Regions from separate parts of the Homo sapiens genome. Here region 1 is linked to region 2. The links are contacts of gene promoters, found by promoter capture Hi-C in blood cells and fetal thymus (Javierre and others, 2016). All regions are on one chromosome and are shown on one strand. Each heading gives the region's core, a stretch centred on a gene start or on the middle of the fragment in contact. The rest is flanking DNA. Distances are from core to core; before and after follow the strand shown.

Region 1 (7,709 bases), core at 2,150-4,649, 560 kb before region 2:
CAATGAGAAATTCTCCTCAGAGAATTCAGGGATGAATTGACCGAGGTTTAGCAAGTGCTTTCTTGCCAGTGAGGTGTCTGATATCTATAGGGGAAGCCTAGACAGATTCATGATCTGTTGTTCCAGCAGGAAAGACTGTGAGCTCATAAAGCACCATACCTGAACCATATCCCCTCTGCCACTTTGATCTTGTGCCCTTGGCATTTATTACAGCCCCAGATGAGCTGTTTCCTGTGGTGACTGTCTCCACATCATAAAAATGTGTATTGGAAGACAGTCTTCTTTCTGTTACTCAAGGACCCTTATGTGAGGAGCCATGTGGGAAATTTCTCCAGGAATTTTATTCAGAAGAAACTGTGCCCTCTGGGTGAACTGGTATGAGTTCCTCTAGCGCCGTGCTATTCCAGCTGTGGCCACAGGCCAGCAGCTGCAGCACCTGAGAGCTGGTCGGAATGCAGAATCTCAGACCCACACAGGCCTGCCGAATCATACTCTGCATTCAGCAGGACCCCAGCTGGTTCCTGTGCACAGCACATTCTCAGAAGCTCTGATCTTGCAGATGAGAACCATTTAACTCGCCTTCACTTTGCACCTGAGCTTCCAGATTCCTGAGTAAATTCCTTGCTCTTTTAGAGTAACTCACCCAATCACCTCGGGTGATCCTCTTGGTACCTTGCCAAGAGGCTTTATTCTTCATTCACTCAGCATTTCAGTTGAGTACTCCCTGTGTGCCTGGTCCTGTGTTCCGAGTACTAGGAGAGGAACAGAAAGAGCACTAGGGTCTCCTGACCTTGAGAAGCTCCCAAAACAGGGCCCCTGTTCCATCACACCACAATTTGAGAGCAGGACTTTGCCTCCTTTCACAGGCGGCGGGGCGGGGAGGTCTTTAATTTTCTAGGGTTTAGGGAGAGCTTCGTGCGGGAGTGTCTCTTTCATGGGAGTGTTTCTTTCTGATGCCTGCTGCCTTTACAGTTCAGAAGCATGTGTTTTCTGGAGGGTGAATACTTGTTTGTCTGCCTGATGGTCAGTCTGTGTCTCACATTTCTCTGTCTCTGCCCCTTTCTCCCTAAGAACCAGGATGTGGTCAGTCCCACACTGGCTCTTCCATGGTGTCTTCCCCGTCCTGCCTCAGGGACAAACCTCTTCTGCTCCTTCCTCCCCCTTGTCATTGGCTCCATCCCATCCTCACCATCTTCTTGCATCCCTCATCCTGCCCCTTTCTTCACTCCACTTGTGGAATTCATGGGGCAACTCCCCTGCGCTCCTCAGCCGCACTGCATTCTGCCCAGCGACAGAGGAGGCACTAGGGCTTTGGTGCCTTCACCCCTGGCCACCCTGTGCTGTGGCCAGCTGCCACTTACTCATTGCATCTCCTCATTTGATGTCCTCTTCCTCGTCTGTCTGTCCATCTTGCACACTGAACAGAATATCACCGCGCCCTACAGAGCACCTGTGTACACAGTTGAGCAGGCCAAAAATCAGCCATTTGTTGAAATAAATGACTAAGAGTAACCCCTCCAACCCTGCTTAGAAAATAGGTTAGGGCAGGCCGGGCACGGTGGCTCATGCCTGTAATCCCAGCACTTTGGGAGGCCGAGGCGGGCAGATCACAAGGTCAAGAGATCGAGACCATCCTGACTAACATGGTGAAACCCCATCTCTACTAAAAATACAAAAAAAAAAAAAATTAGCCAGGCATTGGTGGCAGGTGCTTGTAGTCCCAGCTACATGGGAGACTGAGGCAGGAGAATGGTGTGAACCTGGCAGGTGGAGCTTGAGCTTGCAATGAGCTGAGACTGTGCCACTGCACTCCAGCCTGGGCGACAGGGCAAGACTCTGTCTCAAAAAAAAAAAAAAATAGGTTAGGGCATAAAATGACTTGGAATATAGTATTAGTACTAGCAGCAATAGTAATAGTAGTAGTACTGTTGTCATTTAGTACCATGGGCTAGTTTAGACAGACCATTGAGTTTTAAATCAAAAAAGAAAAATAGGGCTGGGGATGGTGGCTCACACCTGTAATCCCAGCGCTTAGGGAGGCCAGTGCAGGAGGATTGCTTGAGACCATGAGTTCTAGACCAGCCTAGGCAGCATAGTGAGACCCTGTGTCTACAAAAAATTTTTAAAAGGCTGGGCATGGTGGCTCACACCTGTAATCCCAGCACTTTGGGAGGCCGAGGCAGGTGGATCACGAGGTCAAGAGATCGAGACTATCTTGGCCAACATGGTGAAACCCTGTCTCTACTAAAAATATAAAAAATTAGCCGGGTGTGGTGGCGGGCACCTGTAGTCCCAGTTACTCAGGAGGCTGAGGTTGGAGAATCATTTGAACCCGGGAGGCGGAGGTTGCAGTGAGCCGAGATTGCACCACTGCATTCCAGCCTAGCAACAGAGCGAGACTTTGACTCAAAAAAAAAAAAAAATTAAAATTAGTTGGACATGGCGAATGCCTGTGGTCCCAGCTACTCAAGAGACCAAGATAGGAAGATCTCTTGAGTCAGGAAATCGAGGCTGCAGTGAGCTGTGGTCATGTAATGGCACTCCAGCCTGGGCAACAGAGCTTTACCCTACCTCAAAAGAAAAAAAAATGGATTGGGGGGGTGCAGGGAGGGAGAGAGAGGGAGACAGAGGTAGAGACAGAGACAGAGACAGACAGAACGAGAACTGGAAATACCATTTTAACTTGTTTTGTAACTGCCAAGCAGTTGCCCTTTCTGCCACTGGGTGATGCTCTTGTAAACAGTGAAACCCAGCAAAGATGCCGTATTTGGGGGGAATTTTGTAAAGCTTCCTTTTACGTAAGTGAAAGTCATGCTTTTTCAATCTGAAAACTTGTATACAACTTCAATTCCAAAATACTCTGTCTCTGAAATGCCTTCCCATCCATAACACCCTACCCCCAACCAGCCACTTGGACACCATAAGGCCAGACTCTTGTCCTACTGTATCGCTGTGTTTCTCCATTGGTCTGTCACTGAATATTTTATTCAAATAGATTGTGATTATGAATCATTCTGTGTGACTATGATACAGATTTTATATTTAAATTAGGCTCATTTAAACTCACTAGGAGAAAGAGAAGCACCAATTTCATAAAAAATCCATGGATAAGGGCTTGAAATGAAGGTCAAGAAAGAGGCAGTAGCAGCTGTCTTTTGTCTGGGTTTCACTGAATGACTTGGTCTCTGCGCTTCTCCCCTCACTTCACTTTGGATGAGGTTAGGGTGGGGCAGAGTCTTAGAATGTAGGAGAGCCCCATAGTCATCAGCTCTGTAAGGTGTCTGTGCTGGGCCTGTGGCTCCGGAAGGGGCTGGTGTGGGTGATGCAGAGACTCAAGGGTCCTGTCCTGTACAGTGACAGCAGGGATGGTTAATCCCTGTGACTCTGAGGGGTTAGAAATAGGGGTCTTGGAAGTGGGCTCTGCATGGTCTGGAGAGGGAAGAAAGGCTTAGGACGCACATCGGTCAGGTTTCTGTCTGCTAAGCCGGGGGAAAGCCATGTGACCCTGGGCAAGTTACTCAGCCTCTCCTGACCTCAGCTTCTTCATCTGTGAACTGGGAGTTAGAACAAATGACCACAAAGTTCTGTTCCGTTTTCATCATCTGTAACTCTCTAAGACAGCGCTGTCCAGCAGGACTTCCTGCCGTGGTGAAATGTTCTCTGACTGCACTGTCTCATACGGGAGCCACTGGCCGCATATGGCTAGTGAGCATGTGAAGTATGGCTGGTTTCTTGTCTTAATTTATTTAAATTTAAGTAGCCACATATAACTAGTGGCTACCATACTAGACAGTGCAGCTCCACGATACAGAAGAAACTATATTCGATAGAGGAAAATGTAACAAGATCTCAGCGTGGCAGTTCATGGATGTCACAGGCAAATCATGCCAACTAGGAATAATATAAATTCTCCTGAACGCACAACAACAACAGTCCTGTTTCCTTTGAGGAGGCAAGAGTCCTATGAAGCAGAACCATCCGCAGAAGTGAGACAGAAGGAAAAAAGCTTTCAGAAGGGATGGGCTGTGCATCTGCATGAGCTTGCCTGGCAGAGCCTGGTTCAGTAATGAAACCACCAGAGGAGCTGGACACATTTCCCTGTCACCCTTCTAAAGCAGCGGGGAAGGGAGCAAAGTTTTCAGCAGTTTCCAGATCCACCCTGCCTCCTATCCCTTTTCCCCAAAACCATGTGACAGTGTCTAGGCCAGATGCGGTCAGGGGTGGTCAGTGGGCCCTGGGTGTACTCAAATCCCGCTGACAACCTATGCAGCTGAGGTTCCAGGGAAACATACAGCCCCCAGCTGCCAGGCCCCTACAGTCAGTAGTGTTTGCTCTAATAAAATATTAACCCAGTTATTAATATCTCCTCCTTCCCCATGATGAAGGAGTTTATCCGAGAACAATCCGGCACAAAGCTACCTGACCCAGAAGTCATCCAGTTCTGTGTCTCCATCTTCAAATGCTCCAGGCTCCTGCTCACCTGACGGCGTTGATCAGCAGCTCTTAGATGACTTCCACAGGGTGACCAAAGGGGGCTCCACCGAGGACGCCAGCCAGTACTACTGTGACAAGGTGAGCGAGCGCAGGCAGCCGGGTGATCCACACACCCAGGGCTTCCCGGCCTCTTGTGGGCAGCTGAGTAGCTCTAACTAAATGAAAATATCTTATCACCAACTGCTGGAGAGAGATGTGATGCAAATGACCACTTTCAAACCGTTTTCCAGAATGATAATGGTGACAGCTACTTAGTCTTGATCCGTATCACACCAGATGAAGATGGAAAATTTGGATTTAATCTTAAGGTATGTTGTGTATTTATAAAGGAAGTTTTGTGCTGGGAAGCAATCTTTCAATGAGTTTTTAATTTGCATTACAAATGTGCTGCATTCCTGAGCTACATAAGGAAGTTGGTTCAACCCTCAGAATTGAGAGTTGGGGGTTTTTTTTGTTTTTGTTTGGTTTGAGATATTTGGGGTTTTTTTTGTTTTTTTTTAAAAACTCACTTTATCGCCCAAACCTAGAGTGCAGTGGCACGATCGCAGCTCACTGCAGCGCTGACCTCCCCAGGCTCAGGTGATCCTCCCACCTCAGCTGGGACTATAGGGATGCACCACCATACCCAGCTAATTTTTTTCATATTTTTTGTAGAGATGGGGTTTCACCATGTTGTCCAAGCTGGTCTCAAACACCTGGCAATCTACTCACTTTGGCCTCCCAAAGTGCCGGGATTACAGGCGTGAACCACCGCACCCAGCCTAGAATTGAGAGGTTTTTTTTAATGTGGCCTTAACAGCTGCCGAAGGCCAAGTGCCTGCTCTGTGCCTGGCATTGGCTATCCACTAGATTCATAGCACCTTCTTAAGTTCTGATAACAAGTGGTAAGGTCAGTATTTTTAAACCCATTTTGCAAATGAATACTGAGGTTCCCAGAAATGAGGGCACACAGTTGGCAAACAGATCTACCCACTTCAGGAATGCTATTAAGAGAACCCCTCAGCATTGCTAAAGCTGATAAGAGAAAAACAATTCAAGTTCAACCTGCAGGGCCACCACTCTCCTCCAGGCACCTTTAAGCAGGATCTGCAAACTAAACCCACAGGCCAAATCCCATCTGTTTCTGTAACTAGTTTTTTTGGTAACAGCCACAGCCATTTGTTTACTGGTGGGTTAATGACTGCAGAGTTGAGCAGTTGAATCAGAGCCCTCACTCCCACAAAGCCTCTCTGGCCCTTTACAGAAAACGTTTACTCATCCCTACTCTAGGACAAAGTGAGGGCAGGTGGTCGCCTACCCCCCAGCTGCCATCATGCACAGCCTCATCTGCCCCAGCAGCTGTGTTGAGGACCAGCGCTCACAGGCCAGATGCGCTCACAGGGTGTGCCCCCTTCCCAGGCCTCGCTCGCCTCTGCTGAAAGCCCCTATATATATATATATAAAGCCCATATATATATATATTAAAGCCCATATATATATATAAAGCCCATATATATATATATATATATATTTTTTTTTTTTTTTTAATTATTATAAGTTCTAGGGTACATGTGCACAACGTGCAGGTTTGTTCTAGCAGCACTCGAAGACATGCTGTGGAGTCCCTCTCTGGGGGCATCTGCGTTTTTAAGGAGGAGCTTCTCTCTGAGTGTATCTGTTAGTTCATGGACTGTGGGGATGGCAGAGGGAGGCTTCTGAACAGAGTCCTGGTCAGCCCGCTGGATCCAGAGGGGTCAGGAATTTGTTCCATATTTCTGAAATGACGTGTGATTCGAATCAGTCATAGTGAAGTTTGAAGCCTCCCTGTACCAAAGACTCACATTTATTGGTACCTCCATGTTGTTGATGCTGTGAGCTACTCGTTTTTTTGTTTGTTTGTTTGTTTAACTTAAAAAACTTTGTTTTGTTTTTATTTTAAAATGTTTACAGGGAGGAGTGGATCAAAAGATGCCTCTTGTGGTATCAAGGATAAACCCAGAGTCACCTGTAAGTAAATACATTCCATGTTATTCCTCGTGTTTGTTTGTTTCCCCCTAATTCTAACAGGTTTCTGTTTCTGAGTCCTGTTTCTTTTTTTGCCAGAGCAAAGAATGTGCTTAGATATACATCACCATGTTTTCTATAACCTTGCGGCTCAGTGTGGTCTTTGAAGCCATAGCACCCATGTTACCTGGGACCTCATTAGAAATGCAGCATCTCTGGCCTCAGCTTAGGCCTGCTGAACCGGAATCTGCATTTTTAACAAGAGCCTTGAGTGGTTAGTGTGCATTCAATTTTGAGAAGTCCTTTTCAAGAGAAGGAAACTTAGGCAGTCTGCTGTTCTGCTCACTCTAAGTGGGCACGTGGGCCCTGTGCCTCTTCTCACCATCTTTCCACCAGTGCCCCTTTTGTCATCTGTGTAGGCCTCCTAAGAAGAGCATTTGCTTTGTTTTTCTTTCAAATTTATTTTATTGTTTTTAGGCCAGGCATAGTGGCTCACACCTGTAATCCCAGCACTTTGGGAGGCCGAGGAGGGTGAATCACTTGAGGCCAGGAGTTTGAGACCAACCTGCCTGGCCAACAGGGTGAAACCCATCTCTACAAAAAATACAAAAATTATCTGGGTGTGGTGGCACACAGGTGTGATCCCAGCTACTCAGGAGGCTGAGGCAGGAGAATTCCTTGAACCCAGGAGGCAGAGGTTGCAGTGAGCTGAGATCACGCCGCTGTACTCCAGCCTGAGCGACAGAGTGAGACTCTGTCTCAAAAATAAAATAAATTTATTTTATTGTTTTTAAAATAATATCAAGTAATTTTTTCGTTTAATTTTTTTATTGTGCATACTCAAGGTGTACAACATGATGTCTTGTTATACATATAGTACTGCAGTCAAACAAATTAACATGTTCATCACTTTCCATAGTTAACCTATTTTTCTTTTTTAAGAGACAGGGTCTCGCTCTTGCTCTGTCACCCAGGCTGGAATGCAGTGGTATGATCACTGCAGCCTCAAACTAGGCTCAAGCGATCCTCCTGCCTCTGCCTCCCAAGTCGCTGAGACCACAGGTGTGTCCCACCTCACCTGGCTCCATAGTTACCTTTTAATCATCTGCTTTTTTAAAGCAGTAGGAGTCACTGTGCCTCCTTACAGTGAACCACGTTGGGATTTTACTCTGAGGTAGTCCTTAAGCTCTTGTCATTTAACTTTTGTTACTGTTTACAGTTTCTGTAAATTC
Region 2 (7,079 bases), core at 3,163-5,662:
GCTACAATTAAGGTTCTTTCAGGGCTGTATTCCTTCTGGAGGTGTAGGAGACAATACTTCCTCTTGCCTCCAGCTCCTAGAGGCCACCTGTGTTCCTTGGCTCATAGTCCCTTCCTCCATCTTGGAAGACTCTCAGACTAGAGCTGTCATTGTCACATCTGCTTCTCTGCCCTTGACCCTCCTGTATCCCCCATATAAGGACCCTTGTGATTACATTGGCCCCACCCAGGCCATACAGGATACTCTCCCCATCTCAGATTCCTTCATTTAATCACATCCACAGAATCCCTTTTGGCATGAAAGTTAATATAGTCACAGGTCCCAGGGATTAAGATGTGGACACCTTTGGAGGACCCTTTCACCTGTTCAGTGCCTCCCTCTTTGCTAATACACTCCAAGCCTGACATGCTCTGACTCATTTGCTCTTCGTGGGCTGCCCAGGCTTGCCCATCTGTCATCTGTCATCACACTTTCTGCATTTGTGTGTGGAAGAGGTGATGCTTTAGTGTAAGGCAGTCACTCTATCTAGTCTGTAAGGTCCTTGAGCATAGGGATTCCCCTCACATTCTCTGAGCAAAAGCCAATGAAACACTTGCCCTCCTTTTACTTCACCACTGAGTTTCACATGTTGGGTGCTCCTAATAAAAACCCTGTTTCCCCTAAGCTTCCTGTTACCCTCTGTGCCTCTTCTCTCCCTCTATGGGTCATCACACGGTTAGTGGTAATGATGGAAGAATGCAGAGACTGTGGACACCGTGCCCCAAACCTCCACTGCCTAGCACACACACCCCCCATAATTGTCACCAGCTAAGGTCTGTGTGGGCCCTCTGGGGTCCCTAGTGAGGTCCCTCTTGGGAGAGGCACCCTATAGTGCTCAAAATATATTGGGCCACATTTTCTAATGGGATCACACCTACTTTTAGCCCTCTGGCTCAAGACCAAAAAAACCATGGGATGACCCCTTTTCAAATGCAACCCTGGGATCCTCTTCTATAGTGGAGGGAGAGAACATGGAAAGGTGAGATTAAAGAACACACTTCTGCCTGAGGTGCATCCTGGCTCCTGGCTTCAGTTTTGGGACACTGCCCACCCTTGACCTTTGGAGGAGAGGTGAGCCAGGCCTCTGGAATTTTAGCAGCAATGGGAGGGAAAAAAAGAAAATCCAGCATGGCATTTCTTCTCATGAATCACCTGGAGTTTTTCTTAAAAATTACTGGAGCCCACCACAGCCTTTCCAACTCTTGAATATGCTGGAGAACCCCTGAGTCAGGAGCTCCCAACAAAGAAGATCCTTGCCAAACAGGCACTTTGAGCTGCTTTCTCACAGCTCAGATCCCAGTGTGGACACCCAGGTCCCAAGACTGTGTCCATTTCCCCGAGGTGGAAGGGAGAGGAGCTGTCTTCAGGGGCAGATGTGCTACTGAGCATGCAAATGTGGATCCGGATGCTTCCCTTTCCATGTGCTCCAGCCCAGTGTCCCACAGCCTAGTGACCTTTGGGCATCTCTAAGTCAGCAGACCCCAAATGTGAGTGTGTGTGTGTGTGTGTGTGTGTGTGTGTGTATGTGTGTGTGTCACCATCATCCACTTAGCAGCTCAAGGCAGAGACCTGGAGGCTGTGGGTAGGGGTCAAGTTGACGAGGGGACATAGCAAAATGGTAATCACATTCAAACAACATTTCAAGTAGTTTACCCAAAGTCATACAGATTATAAATAATAAGTCTATGTTTGAACCCAGGTCTTCGGAATCCAGTTCCTCAGTCTTCCATCTGCTCTGTACTGCCTTTCTGTAAGGAATGGATAAAAAGTAGGCTCTGGCAGTCCATGAATACTGCCTTTAAATAGCCTAAGAGTTGTCGTGGAAGAATTTGCTTGCCCCGTAGAACTTCAAGAGTAGACCCAAGACCATTTAATGGCTTCAGAGAGGTACACATGCCAATCCAGTGTGACGAAACGTTTATCACTCATGGCTGGCCAAAATAGGGTGAGCTGTCCATGTCAGACTACTGGATGGAATGTTCTAGAAGGAACTGAAGGGTCCAATCCTCAGCTTCTGTGATTTCATGATCCCACCACAGGGCATTTCTGGGTCATGATGTTCATAATTATAACCCTTAGAAAGTTGTTACCCAAATAATATAGTTGAATGCTGCCATGTTCCAAGAAACAATTCAGCGGGCTGGGCATGGTGGCTCACACCTGTAATCCCAGCACTTTGGGAGGCCAAGGCGGGCGGATCACGAGATCAGGAGTTCAATGTCAGCCTGGCCAACATGGTGAAACCCCGTCTCTACCAAAAATACAAAAATTAGCCAGGCGTGGTAGCAGGTGCCTGTAATCCCAGCTACTGGGGAGGCTGAGGCAGGAGAATCGCTTGAAACTGGAAGGCGGAGGTTGCAGTGAGCTGAGATCGCGCCACTGCACTCCAGACTGGGCGAAAGAGCGAAACTCTGTCTCAGAAACAAACAAACAAACAAAAATTTGGCAAACAAAAATCCCCACACATTCCTCATTAGCATTCTTACATGCTCCATGGCAGTATTTCTTAACTCTTTTTCCCCCATGCATGTTGCCTAATCAATTCCTCAGGCACCTCTGCTCATCTTAATTCTCCCAGAAAACTTCCTCAGGCCCAGTTGCCGCTCTTCCCCTTTTTCTGTTGACTCTTCACCACCAAAGCCCTAAACTGCCTTTTTGATTTTTGGAGTGGGAGGGGGCAGCTTAAGTTGCAGGTCCCTCTGGCACTCTCGTGAATTTGTCCTTTCTGGATGACAGGCCATCTTTCTTTGCCCGGGTACAAGTAAGCGATTCATCCTTCCCTCTGCCTCACATCCCACATCACAGGAGCCCATGAGGGAAGCCCTGAAATGTCAGAGTAAGAGCTTGGATTAAAGTGAGGGATGGTTGGGGAAAAAACAGATTGGATTCTATTCTACTTTCTAAGTTTCTCTAGAACTAGGCTCTTCCTTGTTTCCACACTCTCACAGCCCTAGGTCAGGCCACCTTCAAGTCTTATCAGAAGTTCTCCAATGGCCTCGTTTCGGGTCTCAGTTTCTAGTCTTGCCCCTCCCATCCATTCTCTACATTACAGCCCAATGCAGATCTTTCTAACATTTTTATTTTTCTTTTCTTTTTTTTTGAGATGGAGTCTCACTCTGTCTCCCAGGCTGGAGTGCAGTGGTGCGATCTCAGCTCACTGCAACCTTTGCCTCCCAGGTTGAAGCAATTCTCTGCCTCAGCCCCCCAAGTAGCTGGGATTACAGGCACCCGCCACCATGCCCAGCTAATTTTTGTATTTTTAGTAGAGATGGGGTTTCACCATCTTGGCCAGGCTGGTCTTGAACTCCTGACCTCATGATCCACCTGCCTCAGCCTCCCAAAGTGCTGGTGGGATTACAGGCATGAGCCACCACGCCCGGCCCTTTCTAACATTTTTCTAGAGGGCAAATCTGATCATTCCCCTGCTTAAAGTCTTCATAGCTTCCCTGGCTCTCCTCAGTTTAGTCTAAACCTACTCCTGCCATTTGATGCCCTTTCTATTTGGCTCTGTGACTTCTCTAGCTTCATCTGTTTTTCCAAACACTTTGACTGTGGGAAGTTCTTCACCGTGCCTCCATTTGAGCCTTTGCTCAAGCTGTGCTCTCTGCCTGGGATGTCTTCCCCTCCTCTTAACTACTTGACAAATACCTACACCTCTTCCAGGATTCAACTTAAGCATCACCTCCTCTCTAGAGCACCTTCTGACTGCCTGTCTCAAATGAGTTCTCCAAGTAGACTTCTTCCTGCAAACCCATCGGCACCCATTCCATTTTCTTGTCTAGACTGGGCACTGCTGGTGGCCTGGGTTTTTAATCATCTATCACTGGCAGGCTGCACTGGGCGGGACCTACTATATACTCCAGTAAATGTGGAGTGAAGGGAGGAAAGAACTCTTGGGGCGGTTAAGGAGGCCTGGTGCATTGGAGTTTGATGAATTTGGGTTAAGGTACAAACACCCCAAGTGCTGTTTGCTCTTGGGCAAGTCCTTAGAATTCTGAGCCTCATTTCCTCAGCTCTGCCTACCTGCAGAACAACATAAGTGAAGTAACTAGTACAGTGCCTGCCTTACTGGAGGGGCTCAAATAGGCCCTCTCCACCAAGAAGCAGAAGAGGAAAGGTGTCCAGTAGTGAACAGGTTAGGCATGGAAATGCAAGGGGGCTGAGCAGAAACCTCTGAGACCCTAGTGTGCTTGGATTTCTAAAACTGCCGGCCACCTGCTCTGTCCGGGAGCAAACTTGAGTTAGAGAGGTGGGGGTGACACACCAAGAACCGACCAAAGCCAGGCCCTCCCCTGCTGCCTGAATGGACCAGCCCCGAGTGACATCACAATCCCGGGTGGTTGTCATGGCACTGCTGGAGGTGGGGGATCTCATTTCTCCCCAGGGGGCTCTAGGCTGTGGATGTGAGAAGGGGAGCAAGGGAGGCAGATGGCGACAAGGAACAGCCCCATGCCCCTGGGCACGGCTCAGGGTGACCCTGGAGAGGCAGGAACACGGCCCGGCCCTGACGCCAGCCTCCGGGACACAGGTGCGGCCACTCAGCTCAAGATGAAGCCCAGGAAGGTGCACAAGATCAAGGCGGTCATCATCGACCTGGGCTCCCAGTACTGCAAGTGCGGCTACGCGGGAGAGCCGAGGCCCACCTACTTCATCTCCTCCACCGTGGGCAAACGCTGCCCCGAGGCGGCCGACGCTGGCGACACCCGCAAGTGGACTTTAGTGGGCCATGAGCTGCTCAACACGGAGGCGCCTCTCAAGCTGGTGAACCCGCTGAAGCACGGCATCGTGGTGGACTGGGACTGCGTGCAGGACATCTGGGAGTACATCTTCCGCACCGCCATGAAGATCCTCCCCGAGGAGCACGCTGTGCTGGTCTCCGACCCTCCGCTCAGCCCCAGCAGCAACCGGGAGAAGTACGCGGAGCTCATGTTTGAGACCTTCGGCATCCCAGCCATGCACGTGACGTCCCAGTCGTTGCTGTCCATCTACTCCTACGGCAAGACCTCGGGGCTGGTGGTGGAGAGCGGGCACGGCGTCTCGCACGTGGTGCCCATATCCGAGGGCGACGTGCTGCCGGGCCTGACCAGCCGCGCCGACTACGCTGGGGGTGACCTCACCAACTACCTGATGCAGCTGCTCAATGAGGCGGGCCACGCATTCACGGACGACCACCTGCACATCATAGAGCACATCAAGAAGAAGTGCTGCTATGCGGCCTTCCTGCCCGAGGAGGAGCTGGGCCTGGTCCCGGAGGAGCTGCGCGTGGACTACGAGCTCCCGGACGGCAAACTCATCACTATTGGCCAGGAGCGCTTCCGTTGCTCTGAGATGCTCTTCCAGCCCTCCCTGGCAGGCAGCACCCAGCCGGGCCTCCCGGAGCTCACAGCTGCCTGCCTGGGCCGCTGCCAGGACACGGGCTTCAAGGAGGAGATGGCCGCCAACGTGCTACTGTGTGGCGGCTGCACTATGCTGGATGGCTTCCCCGAGCGCTTCCAGAGGGAGCTGAGCCTCCTCTGCCCCGGGGACAGCCCTGCAGTGGCTGCCGCTCCTGAGAGGAAGACCTCCGTGTGGACCGGCGGTTCCATCCTGGCCTCCCTGCAGGCCTTCCAACAGCTCTGGGTCAGCAAGGAAGAGTTTGAGGAGCGGGGCAGCGTGGCCATCTACAGCAAGTGCTGAGCCTCGGCATTTCCACAGACAAGGCCTCCAGCACAGATGGCCACAGGCCTCTCTATACACATTTACAGAATTTCACATAAAGGTTTACTCTGAAATGGCTCTTGTCTAGTCTGGGTTTCTTGCTTCTATCTGATAGCAGAGGGTAGGGGGGAGTCGGGCTTAGAAGCGGCAGCACCTTTTGCACTGGAGGTGGGGGCTGTAAGGAAGGGGGCTACCATACTGATCCCACCCCCTCTGCCTGCCTCATGATAGTGACATCATCTCAGGGCCTAGAAAGTGGCCTCCTGTTTTATTAGTACCTCCAGGTTCAAAACCTGATCCAAAGACACTCCTCATCGCTGGCTCAACTAAGGGGGTTGGCTCTGATGAAGGGACTAGCTTGGGTCACCTAGCGGTAGGTTGGAGGAGATGCACAGCTGGGTGTCCGACTCCAGTCTCCTGTTTCTGCTGTTCACAAGTGCTCCCAACCTTAACACTGCCTGATCACTCCAGGTTCCCTAACCTCCCCCTAGTGCCTGCCACCCTCAATATGGGAGCCTAAGGCTGTGCCAGTGCATCTCCAGAGTGTGAAGTGCCATTTCAACCCATCTGTGGGCGTACCCCTTTCAACCACAGCCAAAATTGCAGCTATTTTTCCAGAGTCACAAAGCAGAGCCACTGATTCCAGAGGATGTCAGAGGAACCAGAAGGTCCTTTAGAAATCGGGTCCTCTCCCGGCTATAGAGATGGGGAAACTGGGCTGGGTGCGGTGGCTCACACCTGTAATCCCAGCACTCTGGGAACCCGAGGCAGGTGGATCACCTAAGGTCAGGAGTTCGAGACCAGCCTGGCTAACATGGTGAAACCCTGTCTCTACTAAAAATACAAAAATTAGCTGGACATGGTGGTGGGTACCTGTAATCCCAGCTTCCCCAGGAGGCTGAGCAGGGAGAATCATTTGACCCCAGGAGGCGGAGGTTGCAGTGAGCTGAGGTTGCGTCATTGCACTACAGCCTGAGCAACAGAGCAAGACTCCATGTCCAAAAAGAAAAAAAAAAAAGAGAGATAGGTAAACTGAGACCAGAGAGGAGAGAGCCAGCTTAATGCCAGTGGTTGAGCCCAGGTCTCCTGATCCACATCAGGATTATTCCCATAAGGGTATAAACATGGTTCTTAATGGTTAGTCAGCAACCCAAAGCACTTACCATGCATGTACTGTGGGTCAGGCCCAGTGCTGGGGACTGAGAAATGAGCAGAACACAGTCTCTACCCTTGGCAATCACACACAGCTAATGGACAACCACATTGGTAGGGAGTCAAGGTCTGAGCTAAGTGTTCACGGTGGTGAGAAGGTAGTGGTGATGCATTGGAATGTTGTAAGTGGA

What was found. The method cuts DNA at HindIII sites, captures the fragments that hold promoters and counts their contacts. A CHiCAGO score of 5 or more calls a contact.
Region 1: a fragment that was not itself captured here is called in contact with the fragment with the promoter of ACTL7B in region 2 in 1 of 17 cell types (endothelial precursors); the score reaches 5.1 in endothelial precursors.

The regions. Positions count from the first base shown.
Region 1 is chr9:109,407,092-109,414,800 of GRCh38, reverse strand. It overlaps PTPN3 (protein tyrosine phosphatase non-receptor type 3), which reads left to right. Exons shown (of 26, transcript NM_002829.4): 15 at 4,386-4,572; 16 at 4,725-4,802; 17 at 6,424-6,480. Among named protein-coding and RNA genes, the nearest start is that of PTPN3, 87 kb to the left of the region's middle. RefSeq lists enhancers at 2,847-2,946, 3,467-3,586. The HindIII fragment of the contact is 1,219 bases long and covers 2,790-4,008 here.
Region 2 is chr9:108,853,319-108,860,397 of GRCh38, reverse strand. ACTL7B (actin like 7B) reads left to right here and starts at 4,412. Exons shown (of 1, transcript NM_006686.4): 1 at 4,412-5,810. The coding sequence starts at 4,468. The coding sequence ends at 5,715. The HindIII fragment of the contact is 8,235 bases long and covers 667-7,079 here.